Linked DNA regions of Homo sapiens: regions 1, 3 and 4 are each linked to region 2. The links are contacts of gene promoters, found by promoter capture Hi-C in human tissues and cell types (Jung and others, 2019). All regions are on one chromosome and are shown on one strand. Each heading gives the region's core, a stretch centred on a gene start or on the middle of the fragment in contact. The rest is flanking DNA. Distances are from core to core; before and after follow the strand shown.

What was found. Contacts are between HindIII fragments. The study calls those that stand out against the background at their distance.
Region 1: a contact is called between a fragment that was not itself captured here and the fragment with the promoter of RECQL5 in region 2, in 1 of the 25 tissues and cell types used here (psoas muscle).
Region 3: the fragment with the promoter of GGA3 here is called in contact with the fragment with the promoter of RECQL5 in region 2 in 1 of the 25 tissues and cell types used here (aorta).
Region 4: a contact is called between the fragment with the promoter of GRB2 here and the fragment with the promoter of RECQL5 in region 2, in 2 of the 25 tissues and cell types used here (dorsolateral prefrontal cortex and pancreas).

What each region holds. Positions count from the first base shown.
Region 1 is chr17:75,323,528-75,328,953 of GRCh38, reverse strand. It overlaps GRB2 (growth factor receptor bound protein 2), which reads left to right. Exons shown (of 6, transcript NM_002086.5): 4 at 2,934-3,056. Among named protein-coding and RNA genes, the nearest start is that of SLC25A19, 37 kb to the right of the region's middle. RefSeq lists an enhancer at 1,575-2,075. The HindIII fragment of the contact is 7,256 bases long and covers 1-5,426 here.
Region 2 is chr17:75,664,557-75,669,761 of GRCh38, reverse strand. It overlaps RECQL5 (RecQ like helicase 5), which reads left to right and starts at 2,608. Exons shown (of 20, transcript NM_004259.7): 1 at 2,608-2,718; 2 at 3,191-3,334; 3 at 4,590-4,711. The coding sequence starts at 3,205. It overlaps SAP30BP (SAP30 binding protein), which reads right to left and starts at 2,424. Exons shown (of 11, transcript NM_013260.8): 1 at 2,284-2,424; 2 at 1,137-1,246. The coding sequence starts at 2,389. RefSeq lists enhancers at 2,183-2,432, 2,603-2,702, 2,284-3,483. The HindIII fragment of the contact is 12,020 bases long and covers 1-5,205 here.
Region 3 is chr17:75,259,192-75,264,471 of GRCh38, reverse strand. It overlaps GGA3 (golgi associated, gamma adaptin ear containing, ARF binding protein 3), which reads left to right and starts at 2,866. Exons shown (of 17, transcript NM_138619.4): 1 at 2,866-2,924. The coding sequence starts at 2,885. MRPS7 (mitochondrial ribosomal protein S7) reads right to left here and starts at 2,593. Exons shown (of 5, transcript NM_015971.4): 1 at 2,489-2,593; 2 at 1,784-1,975; 3 at 1,605-1,668; 4 at 965-1,132. The coding sequence starts at 2,571. RefSeq lists enhancers at 1,807-2,684, 2,481-2,890, 3,361-3,460. The HindIII fragment of the contact is 1,153 bases long and covers 2,844-3,996 here.
Region 4 is chr17:75,403,151-75,407,991 of GRCh38, reverse strand. It overlaps GRB2 (growth factor receptor bound protein 2), which reads left to right and starts at 2,314. Exons shown (of 6, transcript NM_002086.5): 1 at 2,314-2,503. MIR3678 (microRNA 3678) reads right to left here and starts at 1,923; the gene lies at 1,830-1,923. RefSeq lists a silencer at 2,077-2,256. The HindIII fragment of the contact is 9,537 bases long and covers 1-4,841 here.

The DNA.
Region 1 (5,426 bases), core at 1,070-3,569, 340 kb after region 2:
TATTTATTTATTTTTTGAAAGCGAGTCTCGCTTTGTCGCCCAGGCTAGAGTGCAGTGGCGCGATCTCGGCTCACTGCAAGCTCCGCCTCCCAGGTTCACTCCATTCTCCTGCCTCAGCCTCCTGAGTAACTGGGACTACAGGCACCTGCCACCACGCCTGGCTAATTTTTTGTATTTTTAGTAAAGACAGGGTTTCACCGTGTTAGCCAGGTTGGTCTCGATCTCCTGACTTTGTGACCCGCCCGCCTCGGCCTCCCAAAGTGCTGGGATTACAGGCGTGAGCCACCACACCCGGCCTATTTAATTTTTTTGAGATGGAGTTTCACTCTTGTTGCCCAGGCTGGAGTGCAATGGCACGATCTCGGCTCACCGCAACCTCTGCCTCCCGGAGATTCAAGCGATTCTCCTGCCTCAGCCTCCCGAGTAGCTGGGATTACAGGCATGCGCCACCGCGCCTTGCTAATTTTGTATTTTTAGTAGAGATGGAGTTTCTCCATGTTGGCCAGGCTGGTCTCGAACTCCTGACCTCAGATGATCCGCCCACCTCGGCCTCCCAAAGTGCTGCGATTACAGGCATTGAGCCACCGCACCCAGCCTCCTTTTTTATTTTATTTATTTATATATTTTTTTGAGACAGAGTCTCACTCTTTCGCCCAGGCTGGAGTGCGGTGGCACAGTCTCGGCTCACTACAACCTCTGCCTCCCAGGTTCAAGTGATTCTCCTGCCTCAGCCTCCCGAGTAGCTGGGATTACAGGTGCCCACCACTGTGCCCATCTAATTTTTGTATTTTTGGTAGAGAGTGGGTTTCACCACGTTGGCCAGGCTGGTCTCAAACTCCTGACCTCAAGTGATTCACCCCACCTCAGCCTCCCAAAGTGCTGCAATTACAGGCATGAGGTACCGGGCCCAGCCTGTCCTTTTATATTTAGAGAGCATTCTATTCTAGTGATATGTGATTTCTCTTGTGTGGCCTGATTTCCAGGCACTGCAGGCCCTAGCCTTGAGTTATTTGTAGAAGCAGGAGGATCTATTGTCCCAGCTCCTCAGCATCCTGGCAGTAGAGTATGCAAAATGAGAAAGACTCCAAGCAGGTAGATGTCAGACTATTCAGAGTTACTAAGAGTCCCTAGAGGCTGACACACACACACAAGGACAAAGTTACTAAGGGCAGCTTCTAAGTGTATCCTTCCTAGCAGATCACATCTTTCTGTTTGAATTTGAGTATAGTATATTATTTTAGGTACATCTTCCAATATGGTTGCTTATAAGTAAGATATGTAAATTAGCCGGGCGTGGTGGCTCGCGACTTTAATCCCAGCACTTTGGGAGGCTGAGGCGGGCAGATCTCGAGGTCGGGAGTTCAAGACCAGCCTGGCCAATATGGTGAAACCCCGTCTCTATTAAAAATACAAAAATTAGCTGGGCGTGGTGGTGGCCGCCTGTAATCCCAGCTACTAGGGAAGCTGAGGCAGGAGAATTGCTTGAACCCAGGAGGCGAAGGTTGCAGTGAGCCGAGATCGTGCCACTGCACTCCAGCCTTGATGACAGAGTGAGACTCTATCTAAAAAAAAAAGGGCCGGGCGTAGTGGCTCATGCCTGTAATCCCAGCACTTTGGGAGGCCAAGGCAGGCGGATCAACAAGGTCAGGAGATCGAGACCATCCTGGCTAACACGGTGAAACCCCATCTTTACTAAAAATACAAAATATTAGCCGGGCATGGTGGCGGGCGCCTATGTATAGTCCCAGCTGCTCAGCTACTTGGGAGGCTGAGGCAGGAGAATGGCGTGAACCCGGGAGGCAGAGCTTGCAGTGAGCGAGATCGTGCCACTGCACTCCAGCCTGGGTGACAGAGCTAGACTCCTCAAAAAAAAAAAAAAAGAAAAGATATGTAAGTTAGATTTACAACTTTAATGGACTATTTGGTCCATTAAAAGGACTTTTGATATTATAATTAGCATATTAAATGAATGCCAGTTTCCATGTTTATAGGTCTTTATTTGCTATAACTTTTGCTTTTAAAAATGATAACTAAAGACAATTTTGAGAAGAGAACATGGTTTTCACAGTTTCTTCTTCCTAATTATAGTTTTCATTTGAAATAGTGAGGCAGCTTGACTTGAAGCTCTTGTAGAAGTGTTCCTCTCCTCTTCCTCTTGATAAGCCACAGCCAGTTGCTTCACAGTTTTTCATGAATTTAGCCACTTTTTCTTCTGGCCAAGGTGAATCAGCAATTGGGAGCAGAAGAGTCTGCAACTTGCCTCAAAAATCTGAATTTTGCAGCTAGCTGCTGAGCATATGGTAAATTACAATATTCCTGGTGGCTTCTGAAAGCTGAACTCTGAGCAGTGGCCCCAGAGGCAGGCCTTGAGAGGAATGCTGACCTTAGTTACTGGTAGAGGCACCCTCATACTATCTGAACCTTTTGCCTTTGGGCTGTTAGCAAAAGTAACCCTGCCTCCAGCTCCTGGCCGTCCAGGTTTCCTCCCCACTTTCCCTTAGTCCCACTGTGGTGAAGCTGTGATCTTATCACATGGCTGCAGGAAGGGGCCAGTCTCTCCTTGGCAGTTCATCCCGTACACCAAGCCCAAAGGCCTGAGCTTTTCCCCAGGCGCCTTTGTCATGAGTCAGTAGGGAGTCCAGTGGGCTTTGGCCTGGGGGGCCCATTTTCAAATGTCTCCCTCTATAGAAAGAGTGACCCACGGTTAGTGCCTTGGTGAGTCGCTTTCTGGGAAATGGAGTAGGCTAAAGACCTTTGAAGGTCCATCTCTGGGGACCCAACCCAGTGTCGATCTTGGGCACTGTGAGGCTGGAGGATGAGGAGGGAGGCCCCTTCCTCTGGCAAGGAGTGTTGTGTTACTCACATTTTGAAGGCTGGATATCCCGTTTCTTTGTGGGGAAGCAGATGTTGACCAGCTTGCCTTCCTTCCTTAGGTGGTTTTTTGGCAAAATCCCCAGAGCCAAGGCAGAAGAAATGCTTAGCAAACAGCGGCACGATGGGGCCTTTCTTATCCGAGAGAGTGAGAGCGCTCCTGGGGACTTCTCCCTCTCTGTCAAGTAAGTATTTCCTGCTGCAGTTGCCTGGAATCCTGTCTCTGACTGATCCAAATTGTGAAGCCGTTGGTCAGGTGCCTGGCTACACACAAAATGGTGGAGGCTTAGCCTAAACAGTTTCTTCATTTCACATTAAAATCCTAATTTCTGGCTCCTCTCAAAATGAGTTCTAGAAGCACTGGATGTAGATTCCCATGTGGACACAGCCTTCAGGAGGTGAGCAGCAGCTCCCTGCAGCCAGCTGGAGCCTGCCAGTTTTCCCTAGTGCCCAGCACTCCTGAGCTTCTGCCCTCCAAGGGATTCCCGCAGCTCTCTCTAATGGGATAGTGGAGCGCCTGTCGGCTGCCTTGGCTTGCCTTGCTCAGGTCCACTGACTTAAATCAACCAGCCCCATCCTAGGCCCTCACAGTCACTTAAGAAGGCTGCTGCAGGGGATGTGGGGCTTGCATTTCCCCGGTGGAAAGTTCAGGTGTGAAAGGGAGCGGGTAAGCAGGGAATGGAGAAGACAGGAAGTTCTGCCGCCATGGAGAGTGTGGAGAATAGAAACCAGCACTTGAAGATTCTAAACAATTCACACCTCAGCTGTGAAGTCGGGATTTTGAATTAAATTGTTATTTCCATGTTTTTTACTTTCAGTTATTTTCTAGTTAATGTATTATCATAGGACCCTCCCCAGGAGTCCGGCAGATCACTTCATCAGTTATATATAAAGAAGTAATTAGATTCAACACTCAGATCACTACTTAGTTTAGATTACATTAAGATTGTTTTGTTTTTGAATGGGGGATAGAAAACCATTTTCCTTTTATTTTATTTACTTATTTTTGAGACAGAGTCTCGCTCTGTCCCCCAGGCTGGAGTCCAATGGCATGCCTCAGCTCACTGCAACCTCCACCTCCCAGGTTCAAGCAGTTCTCCCTGCCCCACCCTCCGAGTACCTGGGATTACAGGTGCCTGACACCACGCCCGGCTTATTTTTGTATTTTTAGTAGAGATGGGGTTTTGCCATATTGGCCAGGCTGGTCTTGAACTCCTGACCTCAGGTGATCCACCCACCTCGACCTCCCAAAGTGCTGGGATTACAGGCTGGAGCCACTGCTTCCAGCCACCATTTCCCATTTATAACTGATGTAAAGCGTGAGACTTTTCCATTTCAAAAATGAACTGACCAGCCTGGCCAACATGGTGAAACCCTGTTTCTGCTAAAAATAGAAAATAACCCAGGCATAGTGGCACACACCTGTAGTCCCAGCTACTTGGGAGGCTGAGGCCAGAGAATCATTTGAATCCAGGAGGCGGAGGTTGTAGTGAGGCGAGATGGCGCCATTGCACTTTAGCCTGGGCGAAGAGCAAAACTCTGTCTCCAAAAAAAAAAAAAAAAAAAAAAAAAAAACTGGGTGCGGTGGCTCACACCTGTAATCCCAGCACTTTGGGAGGCCGAGGCAGGCAGATCACCTGAGGTCAGAAGTTCGAGACCAGCCTGGCGAACATGGTAAAACCCTGTCTCTACTAAAAAAAAAAAAAAAAAAAAAAATACAAAAATGGCCTCGGCGTGGTGGCGTGTGCCTGTAATCCCAGCTACTCAGGAGGCTGAGAGAGAAGAATCACTTGAACCCGAGAGGCAGATGAGCCAAGATCGTGCCACTACACTCCAGCCTGAGTGACAGAGTAAGACTGTGTCTCCCAAAACAAACAAACAAACTGAATATCTTATTTGGTTTTAGAACCACTTAATGTGTGATTAAAATGTAGATTTTTTTTTTGAAACGTAGATTTTAAATTTATAGTTGTGGCCCGGCATGGTGGCTCATGCCTGTAATCCCAGCCCTTTAGGAGGCTGAGGCGGGCCGATCATGAGGTCAGGAGTTTGAGACCAGCCTGACCAATATGGTGAAACACTGTCCCTACTAAAAAAATACAAAAATTAGCCAGGCGTGGTGGCACATGCCTGTATTCCCAGCTACTCCGGAGGCTGAAGCAGGAGAATCACTTGAACCTAGGAGGCAGAGGTTGCAGTGAGCCGAGACTGAGCCATTGCATTCCAGCCTGGGTGAAAGAGCAAGACTCCATCCATCTTTAAAAAAAAAAAAAAAAGAAAAGAAAAACATGTGTGACACCTGTCTTTCTTTAGTTTTATACTGACCCAAGTGTAACTGAAACCTTATAAGATGAGGGGAACAAGCAGTAAATCACTGGGTGGTGGCCAAAACCACGGGGGCAGCCACGTGCTCGGCTGGACGCTGCCTGTTTGCTCAGCAGAAACTCTCAAACTTCCATTTTCTCAAGTAGAATCTTTTAAGGATTTAATGCATTTATTGTTTTAGAAGCAAAGCAGGTGTCATGACTCTCTTTAACAACACACACACCTCTGCA
Region 2 (5,205 bases), core at 1,359-3,858:
GATTTGTGATCAAGAACTAAGGGCACCATTATAAAAAGTGCCAAATAAAATGTCAAGAAAGAAGTTAAGAAGGCCAGGGATGGTGGCTCATACCTGTAATCCCAGCACTTTGGGAGGGTGAGGCAGGGGAATTGCTTGAGGCCAGAAGTTTGAAACCAGACTGGGAAACATAGTGAAACAACGTCTCTACAAAAAATTTTTTTTTAAATTTTAAAAATCGGCCAGGAGCAGTGGCTCACGCCTGTAATCCCAGCACTTTGGAAGGATGAGGCGGGTGGATCACCTGAGGTCAGGAGTTAGAGACCAGAATGGCCAACATGGTGAAACCGTCTCTGTGAAAAATACAAAAATTAGCCAGGCGTGATGGCAGGTGTCTGTAATCCCAGCTACTCAGGAGGCTGAGGGCAGGAGAATTGCTTGAACCTGGGAGGTGGAGGTTGCAGTGAGCAGAGATCGCACCACTGCACTCCAGCATGGGCGACAGAGCAAGATTCCGACAAAAAAAAATAATAATAGGTTAGCTAGGCATGGTGGCGCCCACCTGTAGTCCCAGCTACTGGGTAGGCTGAGGTGGGAGGATCACTTGCGCCCAGGAGTTCAAGACTGTAGTGAACTATCTATGATCACACCACTGCACTCCAATCTGGACAGCAGAGTGAGACCCTATCTCAAAAAAAAAAAAGAAAAGAAAAAGCAGGTGAAAACGAATTTTCCTTTCTTATCTTGTTAATAAACTGAGAAGACTTAAATGAGCCCCAACCAAGATTAAAAATAATGCAGAGTTGACTGTAGATATAAATGATACACCAGTTAGGATGAATGCCTGCTATAAATGGAGTAAATCATTTAAACAGGGAAAAATCAACATAAAACACCCATTGATATCTGGGTTAAATAAAATAATCCACTATCTTTTCCCCCAAATTTCAATTCAAAGATTAATAAAAAATGATCCATGTGAAAATACATTTTCAAACAGATCTGATATCCAATCCAGTTTCTTCCACTAATACTAAAACAAAACGGGAGAGCAAGGGATGGAGCTAACCATGAAATGGAACACTGTTGGCACAGTTCCAAAATCTGACAAATGAAATTGTGCTTTCAGTAGCTCTGGATCTGGGAGATTTACCTACCGACTGTCTACTGTTCTCATCTTCTTCTTCTTCATAACCATCTTCATCACCCCCTAGACGAGAAAAGTCATCCTCCCCATAGGCATCAGATACCAATCCGCCTTTCTCCTCTGAAAGGTTAAAAAACAAACAAACAAACAAAAAGCAAGAAAAAAAAAACAAGAGTTACAATGTAAGAAAAAATGTCCAGAGATTTGAGTGGCCAAGACTATCTCTGAAGATACAAAGGGAACCTAAATCTCATGTTAAGTTACAATAGGCCCAGATTCGGCTCTCTGAGAAGGCCAGCATTTACTGAATAAAATCATTAAAAGGTCAGGGAACAAAACCGAGTACTAAATTCTGTTTCTAATGCTATAAACACTAGATAAACACTAAAGTGTTTATAGGAAACCATCAGAGAACTTTCTGACTGGAAGAGACCACACAAAATCACAAAACATGGAAGTACCTAACCTAATCCAATCCCCTTCACTTTCCAGATGAGGAAGCTAAGGTCCTGATATGTTGTTAGGTAACTTGTTCTTTATTCTCCCAAAGGAATCTGTTTCCATTATCTAACATTGTGCTTCTCAACCTGAGGAGGAGAACATCACCGTTAGGCTTTAAAAACTCACAAAATAAGAAAAATCACCTGGGATCCTTAAAAAGTTCACAAATGCCCACATCCTACCCCAGTTCTACCGAATTAGGTTCTCTCACTTTGGGCATCAGATACGTTTGTTTTTAAAAGCTCCAAGATGTGTTTAGGGCACATTCCTAACTAAAAGTTATAAAGTTAACGAACACAATCTTTACCATCTTCCACGTATGTTTTACTTATCGCTCTCCCTCATCAAACAACGAGCCCAGGGGAAACAGGCAGTGGCTGAGCAGCCGCTCCCTCTTCGTCCATCCCTCTGTCTATCACTATAGCCGGCACGGAGTCTTTCAGTAAGTTTAGGCAAATTAATCGAAATAACGGGAAGGAGATTCTTCATTCTTAGTCCACAGTCTCTAATGCTCTATCTCACCCCGGACCCTGGACCATTCTTCGGGGTCCGGTGCTTGGAGCACAATGACCATCTTGTTCCCTCCCGCCCAGCGAGGGTACAGCATTCCGGGCAGACACCCGATTCCCCCTTCCAGCTTCGCACTTGGGCCTTACCAGCCGCGCTGCCCACCGCCTCGATTCCAGCCTCGCCATCAGACTCGGGCTCTGAATCTTCCGCGTAAACTGCGAGAGACGACAGAACATTCTTCTTCCCCGCCATCTTATTCCCACAGCCCGGGCGTGGCTCACTCCTATGACTCAAGACGCCGACTTCCGGGCGGAAAGGCAGGTTCTTTCGGATCCCAGGAGACCCCCGCGCCACACTGGAAACCAATCAAAACGGCAGTTTCCTGCGCCTGGCTCCGCCCTCATGCCAGCGCTCGCGCTACGTCATCACTGCGCGACGGATATAAGATTGCGTGGGTTCTGCCTAAAGCTGAATTCCCAGCGCTTTGGCTTCTCTGAGTTGGGGTTGTGTATAGGGGTCTTCGAACAGTTCCGGAACCAGCCAGCAGCCTTTAATTCTTGGGCGGACCACGGCCGGTTCTGATATCTTAGGGTGAAGAGAGGGAGGTGTCGGCCAGCCAAGAGAGAAAATTGCGGATCTTGGGCTCAGGAAGACGGGAGAAGGGGTTCGGGGTCCCGGGGTGGAAGAACGGTCGTCGTGGTTGCGCTTATAGAAGTAGGAGCAGGTGGTGGATCTTAGGAAAACGGTTCCCCGTTCTCCAAGCTGTTCTGAAGACATTTATGTTTCTTCTCTTGATCTGATTTCTAGCTCTGTGCTATACCGTGGCCTGGAATAGTTCAATGTTTTCATTTTCATTGAGCGTAAAAGTGGAGATGTTAATTACTGAGGAATGTATTGCTTGAGGCAGTTCACCTTCAGCTTTATTACTTAAAAATAATACATTATTTAAGTGTAATATAGCAAATTGTTACAGAAAAATAATCTGTATTTTTAATGCAAAACAGAGGGTTCTCGTGGCAACCTTTTACTACCTTTGCCTTAACCTTTGGCCACTGTTCTTGGCTAAGATGAGCAGCCACCATACCACCTTTCCTTTTGACCCTGAGCGGCGAGTCCGGAGTACGCTGAAGAAGGTCTTTGGGTTTGACTCTTTTAAGACGCCTTTACAGGAGAGTGCGACCATGGCTGTAGTAAAAGGTAACATTACCAAGCTACCTTCCTTTAAATTTATGCTGGCTATACCATAACGCTGCGGCAGAACACCCTCCTCCTCACCCTTCGTACTGCCTCACCTTTGGTCCATAACTGGATTTGGAAATCTTTAGAGTTGTCAAAGCTTGTAGTTTCGTTTATTTGTTTTAATTAGAGATGGGGTCTTGGCATGTTGCTCAGGCTGGTCTCCAAATCCTGGGCTCAGGCAATCCTCCCACCTCGGCCTCCCAAGGTGCTGGGATTACAAGCATGAGCCACCACGCCCGGCCCAAAGCTTGTAGTTTTAGTGGCAGAACCACCCAGCTGGTCTATATTTCATAGCTAGATTTACACATGGTCTTTGAAAACACTTCAGATTCTCATTATTGTTCGTTTGTACACACAAACGAACAGCAACAGTGAGGGTGGTAGGAATAACTTAACTCGGTCACTGGCCTCCTAGGTAATTCCCTTGTTGCAGGTTGAGTGGCCTTGGTCCCAGATAGAGAAGGAAAGAGTAATAATGTTATAAACCTGAGATACGGTGACAAATGGAAGTTGCCAAGAGGCGAGCAGCAATGTAATATTAATGATACATGTCTAAACAAAAGCCCTCTAAGTAATGTCCTCTCATGTCTACACAGATGTACCCACTCATCTAGCAGTACTCTGCTTTCATGGCTGTTTAGTTCAATCATCCATATCACAGCAGACTCAGACTTCTTTTTTTTTTTTTTTTTTTTTGAAACAGAGTCTTGCTCTGTCGCCCACACTGGAGTGCAGTGGCGCGATCTCGGCTCACTGCAACCTCCGCCTCCTGGGTTCAAGCAATTCTCCTGCTTCAGCCTCCTGAGTAGCTGGGATTACAGGCACGTGCCACCATGCCTGGGTAATTTTTGTATTCTTAGTAGAGACAGAGTTTCACCATGTTGGCCAGGCTGGTCTCAAACTCTTGCCCTCGTGATCTGCCTGCCTTAGCCTCCCAAAGTGCTGGGATTACAGGCGTGAGCCACTGCGCTTGACCCAGACTTTTTAAATCTTGTTTTTAACCATTACTAGAAATGGTTTGGGCATGTATCCAAGTTTCCCAGGATCCTTGCCTTTTTCATAGAAAGGACAGGAGGGGAATTAGGATTACATCGAGACCCTCCCATGTGCCAGACACTCTGCTAGGTGCTTTTCCTACATTCTCATTTAATTTTCAACAACTTCAATGAAAAGGCAGGAAGCACTGAGATATTGTTGTCTTGTATTTTTTCAGGTAACAAGGACGTCTTTGTGTGCATGCCCACAGGGGCAGGAAAATCCCTATGCTATCAGCTCCCTGCTCTGTTGGCCAAAGGCATCACCATTGTAGTCTCTCCTCTCATTGCTTTGATTCAGGTGAGGCTTAGGGCAATGAAGATGGTAGCCCAAAAAGATTCGGGGAAGGTTTTTTGAGGCTGGAAATTTCACTTCTCTATTGGTCTTTTGCCTCTTATTTTCTTTTCTTTTTCTTTTTCCTTTTTTTTTTTTTTTTTTGAGACAGAGTCTTACTCTGTCGCCTAGGCTGAAGTGCGGTGGTGCGATCTTGGCTCACTGCAGCCTCCACCTCCCGGCTTCCAGCAATTCTTGTGCCTCAGCCCCCCATATAGCTGGGATTACAGGTGTATGCCACCATACCCGGCTAATTTTTGTATTTTTAGTAGAGATGAGGTTTCACCATGTTGGCCAGGCTGGTCTCAAACTCCTGACCTCAAATGATCCGCCCACCTCGGCCTCCCAAAGTGCTGGGATTACAGGTGTGAGCCACCACACCCGCCCCTGCCTCTTATTTTCTATGATTTGCCTATCTCATTCGCTATATTGGGTTTCTGTATTTCCCCAATGTAGTGTTC
Region 3 (5,280 bases), core at 1,617-4,116, 410 kb after region 2:
AATGCTATGAAAGAGATACCTAGTACTGTTCAGCAAACACTGATGAAGCATCAGTTATCGGTCAAGCACTATGCCAAACACTGGCATACAAAGACAGGATATGAATAGTCCCTCGCCATGAGAATTTTACAGGTTAGGACACACAGGATGCTTGACAGAAGAAGGCGAAGGGAGGTGGGCTCCCAGATGTCACTTAGATACTTCTTCACTCTCTTCCACCTTCTGCCTATAATTTTTACGCTACAGGACTCAGATGAGTGGACCGTAACAGTCTCAATTCTTTTTTTTTTTTTTTTTTTGAGATGGCGTCTTGCTCTGTTGCCAGGCTGGAGTGCGGTGGTGTGCTCTCGGCTCACTGCAACCTCTGCATCCTGGGTTCAAGCGATTCTCCTGCTTCAGCCTCCCAAGTAGCTGGGACTACTGGTATGTGCCACCACACCTGGCTAATTTTGTATTGTTAGTAGAAACAGGGTTTCTCCTTGTTGATCTCGAACTCCCCACCTCAGGTAATCCATCCACCTCGGCCTCCCAAAGTGCTGGGATTACAGGTGTGAGCCACCGTGCCCAGCCGTTTTTTTTTTTTTTTTTTCTGAGACAAGGTTTCTCTCTCTTGCCCAGGCTGGAATGCAGGGGCGTAATCATAACTCACTGCAGCCTTGACCTCCTGGACTCAAGTGATCCTCCTACCTCAGCCTCCTGAGTAGTTGGGAGCACAGATGCACACCACCACACCTGGCTAATTTTTTTGTTTTTTTTGTAGAGACGGGATCTCCCTATGTTGCCCTGCTGTCTCTTAACTCCTGAGCTCAAGCTATCCTGCATTAGGCTCCCAAAGTGCTGAGATTACAGGTGCAATCCCACTGCACCAGCTAGAAAGCTATCAATCTTGACCCAACTCCCAAGCACCACCTATCTTGTTTCACATGTGGAGGGCCCTGCTTTCTTGCCCTGGCCATTCATTCACCTGGTAGAAACGGCCTCCCTTGAGGATGGGTACCAGCCCAATCATAGGCTCACAGTTTTTCAGTGCTTGATGGAAGATGGTGTAGGGGTTGCGTTCGATGGTTGCCTGTTCCTCTGCAGAAGCGGCATGGTACTTCTCAAACTGCTTCCTTTTCACAGCTTCCAGAGTCTGCAAAAGAATATGGTGGAAGAGGCTGCCCCAGGCTCCCTAAAGGGTTTACCCAGCCAAGCTAGTACCTTGCCCTTTACTCCCATCCTCTGGTTCTGCGCTGGCAATGCAGCTCCTCTCACAGCACATCCAAAACAAAGTTTTTAAGTGCCTCCCCCTTTGCTAGACTAGGACAGAAAGAGTGGATTGAGATTTGTGGCATGGAGGGGGTGGGGGGTGAGGTGGGGAATGGCAGTTGTTTTATTTTTTATTTGTTCCTTTTTTTTTAATTGTGTGTTTACTTCCGAAACACCAAGGAATGGCAGTTGCTGACTCTTACAGGGCTTCATTAAAGCCCGTACACATGCAGGGAAGTTAATCTGAATAATAGATACATGAATCCATTTGCTCTTAAGCTACACTGAAAGTACCAAGTACAAGGCTACGGGGTAGGGGGGCAAGAAAGATGACTGAGGAGGGAAGTGCTGTTTACCTGAATCATGAGGGATCTGGCCAGTACTTTGTTTCCTCCTATCATCATCATGTTGGTGAATTTACTTCAAAGAGAAAAGCAACACGTTTAGCTCTCCAAGGCTGTATCACAGAATCCTCACCAGAAACCCTCCCTGGGATAGTCCCAGTCCATGTAACAAGTGTTTGTTTCCATCTAACCTGATGACTGGGTCTTCAAACACAGAACTTGTTTTCCCTGCTGGAGCAGCTTTGATGAGCTGAGTCTTCTTGAGCTCCCGAACATATTTCTCCTCCTCAGTTAGCTCCTCCACTGGCTTGCGATAATATTCCTTGTCAATCAAGGGATCCTTGAATTCAGGACTATAGCGGCTCCATCTCACCTGAGTTAGCCTGGGAGGGGGGGAAAGGAGGAGGCAGGCAAAAGCTGACTCCACAAGCGAGTAGGTTTGACTTAACAATAGGCATGACTGCCAACGCGCCGACGAGGGGGAGCGGCGCGGAGACCGCGAGCTAAACCTGAGCCACAACAATTCAGGCCCTTGTCCCAAGTAGGAGGACATTCCCCAAGCAGGCGGGTAAAGTCTCCTCCTGGTCAAGTGCTAACGGTAAGGATGGGCTTGGCGCCTACACACCCATCCCAATTCACAGGCGATCCCAGATCTGAGCTCTTTAGCTGAACCGCACTTTCAGCTCCGCGTTAGAACCCTAGATCAGCCAGACTCCTTAGGCGAGAGGTAGTCACTAAACCTTCGGATTGGCGCAGGGTCACGCAGCTAACTTAGAAGCTTGAATCCAGATACTCCGGCCCCCAGGGCAATGCTCTCTCTAGGGGCCCACGCGGCCTGCCTGTGGCCCCCTTCCTTCCTCGCAGCGCCCCCCCGCCGCTGCTCGCCACCCTCTCACCCTGGAAGCTGCAAGACAGCCCGCCGCACGCCCAACGCCAGGCCCGACCATCCTCGGGCAACCTTCACTGCGGGGGCAGCCATCTTGGCTGGCCACGAGGACCCCACAAGGACTGCCCTCGGCGCGCCTGAGCGAGTGACGGGAAACGGGTGAAAAAGACTCCTCAGGGTCCTAAATCTGCGTTTCTCTCCACTGATCTGGACGTTAGAGTTTTTCACTCCGGGGTCCAAAGGGGAGCGCCAAAAGGAAACCCTTGCCCTCCCTGTATCCGTCGCAGTCTGGCGCGGCCCTCGGTGACGGCACTCACTCCTCTCAGGACCCCATGCAGGCCCCGCCCCGTCTCAGCTCGTGCAGACTCTCGCGAGTTTTGAAGCCGCGGGGCCGGGCGGCTGCAATATGGCGGAGGCGGAAGGGGAAAGCCTGGAGTCCTGGCTCAGTGAGTAGCCGCGGCCGTTTCTGCCTGCCCTCGAGCCGCTGGGCTGCCCCTGTCTTCACCCCCACGTCCCCTCCCCGGGCTCCACGGCGTCGCCTCTTGGCAGCCCACGCCCGGTCTCGCCCTCGCCGCGAGCAGCCTGCGATCACGCCCCTTCCCTATCAGGGCGCCGGGCCCCAGTCCGGCCCCCGCTTCCCTCGCTGCGGCGCGTCCTCTTGCTCTGGCGCGCGGCGGCGTGAACTCGGGCTCCTGTCGGGCACCGCAGGCTCGGGGAAAGGCGACAGCCAAGATCTTCGGGCTGACATGCTTCGGCGCTTTGGGGAGATTGTGGTGGGGTCGCCGCCCGGCGGTGACACCAGGAACCCAGCGCCCCAATCCCTGACTAAGGGAGAAGCTTCGGATTGGGGCTGAGTCTCCGGTAGTGGTGGGTGCTGCCGACTGCGTTCAGTCGCCTGGCAGCTTCAGAATTGTGACCATGTGTTGGAGAAGTGACGGCTTCGCTCAGGCAGAATGCTTGAAGTGAGAATAATATTCCAAAGAGAGCGATGATAGAGAACAGAGAGCTCTACCTTTTTCCTGCAGTGACCACAGAAGCATGGTGAAATCGGTGTCGGGAATTCCCCCCCCACACACATACATATACCCCCTTGAATATCCTAACGAGTCAGTGTTGATAGCCTATTCTGAGTAAGGCTGAGGAGCACAGTCTGAAGCTGTAGTTATAGAAGCGTATTGCTGTCATTGCACTGTGAATTACAGTGCTACGAAGGAAATGTGTGTTAACCTGGTTAGCAGGTAGTACTCTGCCTGAGGGTTAATAAGTGAACTTTCCTGTAGGCTAGACCTGGAAGCCTCCTTTAAGTGGAGAGAGAAATTGGACTGGTAATGGGATAGGTGAGATACCTAGTATTGCCTTGTTCTGAGGTCTCTTATTTAGTACTGCTTCCGGGATCTTGGAGGTGATAGCTATTTCCTCAAATTGTCTGATTTTTCCTAGTAAGAAACCCCCTTCAGGAGGTTGAGCTTCAGTTTAAAGGGGAGCATATCCCAAAAGAGAGAAAAAGTAAGATCACGTTTGCAAAATCTGCAGTTGCAGGCAGGTCATAAGGCTTCTTTATATATGGAAGTGTTCTCCAAGGAGCTCAAAGTACTTTACAGATATTCATTAAATTAGTTTACCAAGTATTCTAGCAAAGCAGGCACTACTGCCATAATTTCACAAAAAGAGGACATCCTGACTCCAGTCAAACCACTTGCCCAGAAATGCCCAACTTGCTATAACCAGAGTGGAATTAGTTTGCTTTGAAGGTATTAATATGGGTATTGAATAATTTAAATGACCTAAGCTGAGTTTAATAGGCTACATTTAGAGTTACATTTTGTTTTTGTTACTTGTTTTTGAGACAGAGTCTCGCGCGCTGTTGTCTAGGCTGGAGTGCAGGGGTGCGATCATAGCTCACTGCAGCCTTGAACCCCTGTGCTCAAATAAGTCTTCTACCTCAGCCTCCTGAGTAGCTGGGACTATAGGCACACGCCACCATGCTTGGCTAATTCTTTTGATTTTTAGTAGAGATGAGGTCTTGCTGTGTTGCCCAGGATGGTCTCAAACTCGAGTTCAAGTGATCCTCCCACCTTTCCCTTACAAAGCGCTGGGATTACACACGTGAGCTACCGCACCCAGCCTAGAGTCACATTATGAAATGAGAGGGACACACTTGGTGGGGGGGAGTCACATGGTATCTGTAGAGACATAAGCTTCACAGTTGTTACGACTTAATGTGAACTGTACCAGTTGAACAAACCAGCAGTTGGGGTTCAGCATCGTCTCAGTCAGCGTCCTTGTCACCCCACGTTTGCCTGAATTGTTGCAGAAGCCTCTGCTTGGCCCAGAGACCCAGGTCTCTCCCGTCCTCACCTCTCCTCAGTCCATTCTGCTCCCAGAAGCGCACTTGTGTTGAATCAAATCATTCCACTGTTGCCTGTAATCTGGCCTTGGTTGTTCCAGGCCTTTTTCTCTGTGGCTTCTACGTTTTCCTGCTCTACTCAGTCTGATGTTCTTGGTTTACCAATACACGTTGCTCTCCTTACCTGGAAGCCCTGCTCCCGTTTCCTCAACTAAATGCTTGAAAACCCATCTCAGATTCTCTTTTCTCACAAACCATCTCTTGATGACTTCAGTCTTCTTTCAAGTCCCACCATGATCAATCAATCAATGTTTAATGAGTACCTGCTACGTGGGGTGTTATAGGAGTTAGGAAGTTTAAGAAGATTTTGCCTTTAGTTGGATGGAGGTGATGCTGGAGTGGATGAAGAACTCTCCTGTAATCCCAGCACGTTGGGAGGCCGAGGCGGGTGGATC
Region 4 (4,841 bases), core at 1,065-3,564, 260 kb after region 2:
ATGAGGATTTTAGAACAAGACAGGCCTTAGTCCAAATCTTAGGTCTACTATATTTTGGCTTCCTTGGGTAAATTACTAACCTCTCTAAGGCTTAGTTTCCAAGTCTGTAAAATGGGGATATTACCCACCCTGTGGAGGCGCTATGACTTAAGTATGCATCAAGTGGTAAATAGAGGGTCCTTTTCTTATTTTCACCTCATATCAGACACCTCCTGCTCAGAAACCTTCAGAGGTTGCCCATCACTTGACTATGACACCTAAGCCATGCATTTTGCATTTTGGCCCCTCTCTCTCATCACTCTTCCCCCCAATTACTGGGGCTTGGACTAATCAAAAACATTGGTTGATGGCCAGGAGTGTTGGCTCACATCTGTAATCCCAGCACTTTGAGAGGCTGAGGCAGGTGGATCACCTGAGGTCAGGAGTTCGAGACCAGCCTGGCCAACATGGCGAAACCCTGTCTCTATTAAAAATACAAAAATTAGCTGGGTGTGGTGGCAGGCTGCTGTAATCTCAGCTACTTGAGAGGCTGAGGTGAGAGAATGCTTGAACCCAGGAGGCGGAAGTTGCAGTGAGCCAAAATCATGCCACTGCACTCCACTCCAGCCTGGGCAACAGTGCAAGTCTCAAAAAAAAAAAAAAAACCAAAAAAACAGGCATGGTGGCTCACGCCTGTAATCCCAGCACTTTGGGAGGCCAAGGTGGGCGGATCACCTGAGGTCAGGAGTTTGAGACCAGCCTGACCAACATGGAGAAACCCCATCTCTACTAGAAATACAAAATTAGCTGGGTGTGGTGGCACATGCCTGTAATCCCAGCTACTCGGGAGGCTGAGGCAGGAGAATCCCTTGAACCCGGGAGGCGGAGCTTGCGGTGAGCCAAGATCGCGCACCATTGCACTCCAGCCTGGGCAACAAGAGCAAAACTCCGTCTCAAAAAAAAAAAAAAAAAAAAAAAACAAAAGGCTGATTCCATTACTCTTTCCTCTTTCCTCCCTGCTTTCACTTTGCCGTTCAAACCAAATCCTTCTTGATTAGCTCAGCACCAAGTACTGGCTCCCTCCTCAGCCATCCCTATGTGTAGTTCAGTGGCACTTGGGGCCAACTGCTTGTCTTACAGATTAGGCAACTCTAGATTACAAAGCACTGAAAGCAGGGGCTTCATCTGGTTGGTCTTTGACCCTGCAGAGCCCCTTGCACACAGGTGATGCTCAATAAATACTTGGTGAAAGCACAATTCATTTTCTGTGTTTCAATGGGCTTCTTTTCTCTATAGAATCAGATGCTTGGTTATTCTCACCTCAGCGCTATTTTGTTGGCTTCCAGAAGGCACAGTAACGCTAGGTGTGTTGTGTTCTATCCTTTAATTGGAAGAGCTTTGGGAACTGAAAAATAAGAATTATTTCTCCAAGCCTCATCTTCTGCCACTCCCCCGTACTCACCGGCCTCATACAGGAATTGAACTACTTAGCACTGCACAGAACACGACTTTCTCTCTCACGCCTCCGTTCCTCTGTACTTAGCCTCTGTACTTACGTGCCATTCCCTTTCCCTGAAATGCCCTTACTCTGGCTTCTCTGCCTGGCAAATTCCTACTCATCCTCCAAGACTCAGATCAGACATCGCCGCATCACATCTGTGAAGGCTCTTCTGCAATGGGCAGTGTAGCAGTACCCCCTCCATTTTTTTAGCTTCCTCAGCAAACTCCAAATAATTATAACAGTACTTATGGCATTATTTGTTTATTTTTCTTCTACTTCCTAGACCGTGAATTCCTTAAGGGCCAAGATTTCTGTTCTATCCCCAGCACAGTGTTCGGCCTATATTGGAGAATCCGGTCCGTACAAACTCTGCAGTGATTCAATCAATGAGCAAACAAACTCACCAATCATTCAACACAGCAGAGTTTGTACGGACCGGATTCTCAAATATTTTAAGACCTGGTCCTCTATTTGGAGTGCTTCATTCTGGAAGATCTCTTCCTCCCCCAAGCCCCTACCCATCCAACTGCCTAGGTTTGGTAGAAGAGGAAAATAAAGTGATTAGACGGGGGAAGAGTCCTTCAGGGCTAAGCTGTCATTTACCCGCTCTGGCACCGAGAGGGTTACGGCGACCCGGGGGCGGAGCCGTGCGGAGGCCACCTGCTGCGGGGAGGTCTGGCGCATGCGCCCTGACACCTAGCTGGTTCCCTACCCGCAGGGGCCCGGCTGAGGAGGAGCGCTTGCGCTCTGGGCCTTTTCCGCCGGGGGAAGTCTCGCGGGGGCGGGGCGGGGCCTCGTGGAGAAGTTCTCGCGGGACACCGACGGGGAGCGGAAGCCAGGAGGTATTGCTGCTTCGGCGACCGGGCGGCGGCAGCGGCGGCGGCGGCTGTGGCAGAGTCTGTGCCTGTGGCGGTGACGGCGGCGGGAGCAAGCGCTGCCCTCGCAGAGCAGCCTTGGGGTCGCCGGCCGCTCGCAGCGTTGTGGAGGGGCGGGCCGGACGCTGAGCGGAGCAGCTGCGCCACGGTGAGTACGGGAGGCTGCGCTCGGCGCCTCTCTCGTGCCTTTTCCTCTTGGCTCTACAGCGGGAGTGGGCCCCGGGGGAACCGGGACCGGCCCCGGGGTTCGCGTCGGGGCGGCGAGGCTTGGGACGTGGAGCGCAATCCCCGGGGCTCCGGACTCTACGTTTCCCCTTTTGGGGCGCTTCCTTCCTGGGGACCGTCCTCCTCCGGCTCTTGGCTCTGGGCAGTCCGGGGGAAGAGGTCGGGGTTCTCTGGCGAGGTCCCCTGCCTTCATCGGGAGGGTTTGCACGGAAGGGGCCCGGGAAGCCCAGGCGGGCCGAACGCCGACCGAGTCAGTCTACCCGAGCCTGGCGGCGGGGGACTGGTGTGGGCTGCAGCTGTGGTGATTGATGTGCCTTCGACCTGCACGGCAACCACGTCACCATCTCCTGGCGTCTTTGGGCTTAATTTTGTGCGGGAATCCACTTTGGGGTGGAACGTTTGCTGCTGGAGCCGGGGGAGATACCTTTATTCTGACACTTAAAAAAAAAAACTATTTGAAAAATATTTGTCAAGAAAAATTCAGCAGTAGCAGGTTGGACTGCACCGAGGAAGGATTGCGGCGAGAGCGGGCGCTGGTAATTTTCATTTGCAGCGCGCCCTCTCTATGATTGTAAGCCACACATGAGTTATGGCTTGTTTAGAAAGTTTTTCAAGGCTGGCTTCAAACGCTGTGAAAGTGCAGTTTGCAGGGGACTGAAGTGCACTTGAGGTCTGTCTCTTTTTGATGCTGTTGACTTTCCGAAATGTCAGACACATGAGAGAAATTAGCATTAGTCTATTTTGGCTTTCTTACTCCTCTTTCTCCAGTTATTTCCTTCCTTCTCTATCTGCTTCTGTCCTTTCCACTAGGGACACGAAATGCTTGTGTAATGCAAGTCATTTGCCCCTTCCTCCCCCCACCCCCCCCTTTTTTTCTAATGTACTTCCCCTTCCTCCTTGTAGTCCCCACTCTGGCGTAATTTTTCGAGGTTTCTTCCCTTTCGTGCTGTTCGTTTTCTCTCATTTCAAGATTCCGTCTTTTTCCTCGGGAAGAGACTCTCTTTCCTTGCTTTCGTTCCTTTACTTTTGCGCGTCCCCTGCGTTCCCTGCAGTCAGCCAGAAGGGTTGCTAGAGAGCCGTGGGAGGCTGAAGTCCCCTCTCTGAGAACGGGGAGGCTCAAAAGATTGAATTCATCCCTAAGAAATCAGTCCTGCCACTAGGTCGCAAGTGTGGTTTGCTTGTATTATTTTTGTCTTTTACTCTTTTTCTTTTAAGATTATGCTTCTGTGCCTGCTTATGTTTTCTTCTAGTATGTCTTTATAATAGGAAGATTGGGTCAGCTCAGTGACTTTTTTTTTTTAGGCAGAGTTTTGCTCTTTTTGCCCAGGCTGGAGTGCAATGGTGCTATATGGGCTCACTGCAACTCTGCCTCCTGGGTTCAAGCGATTCTCCTGCCTCAGCCTCCCGAGTAGCTGGGATCACAGGCGCCCACCACCATGTCCAGCGAATTTTGTATTTTTAGTAGAGATGGGGTTTCACTGTGTTGCCCAGGTTGGTCTTGAACTCTTGACCTCAGGTAATCCACCCGCCTTGGCCTCCCAAAGTGTTGGGATTACAGGCGTGAGCCACCGCGCCCGGCCAGAGTTAATTCTTATAATCAGCTTTCTTCTACTAAACACAAGCATTTATTTATTTATTTTATTTTTTTGAGACGGAGTCTCGCTCTGTCGCCCAGGCTGGAGTGCAGTGGTGCGATCTCGGCTCACTGCAGCTTCCACCTCCTGGGTTTAAGCGATTCTCCTGCCTCGCACTCCCGAGTAGCTGGGATTACAGGTGCTCACCACCACACCTGGCTAATTTTTGTATTTTTGTAAAGACAGAGTTTCACCATGTTGGCCAGGCTGGTCTCGAATTCCTGACCTCAAGTGATCTGCCCATCTCAGCCTTGGGATTACAGACATGAGCCACTGCGCCCGGCCTGAACTCAAACGTTTAAATGTTTGAGGCACTTTACTTCGTCAGCAAGTTATTCAGATTTGAGAGGCTTGCTGGGTTTTAAATACTACTGGTTGATGGTACTTAGAGATTCTTCTCAGTAATTGCTGTTATCATGTTGCATGTTGTCCATCAGAGTTCTAATTGTTACACATACAACAGAAGAGGAATGGATTTTGGAGAAATGAAGTAATACAGAATAGAGAGTCACCATGCCCTCCGGAGAGAAATTAATACTTGCTTAATTCAGAGGAACTCTCCACCATTACTGAATGGCTTTTGAGAGTCTGTATATATATATATATTTATATATATATATATTTTTT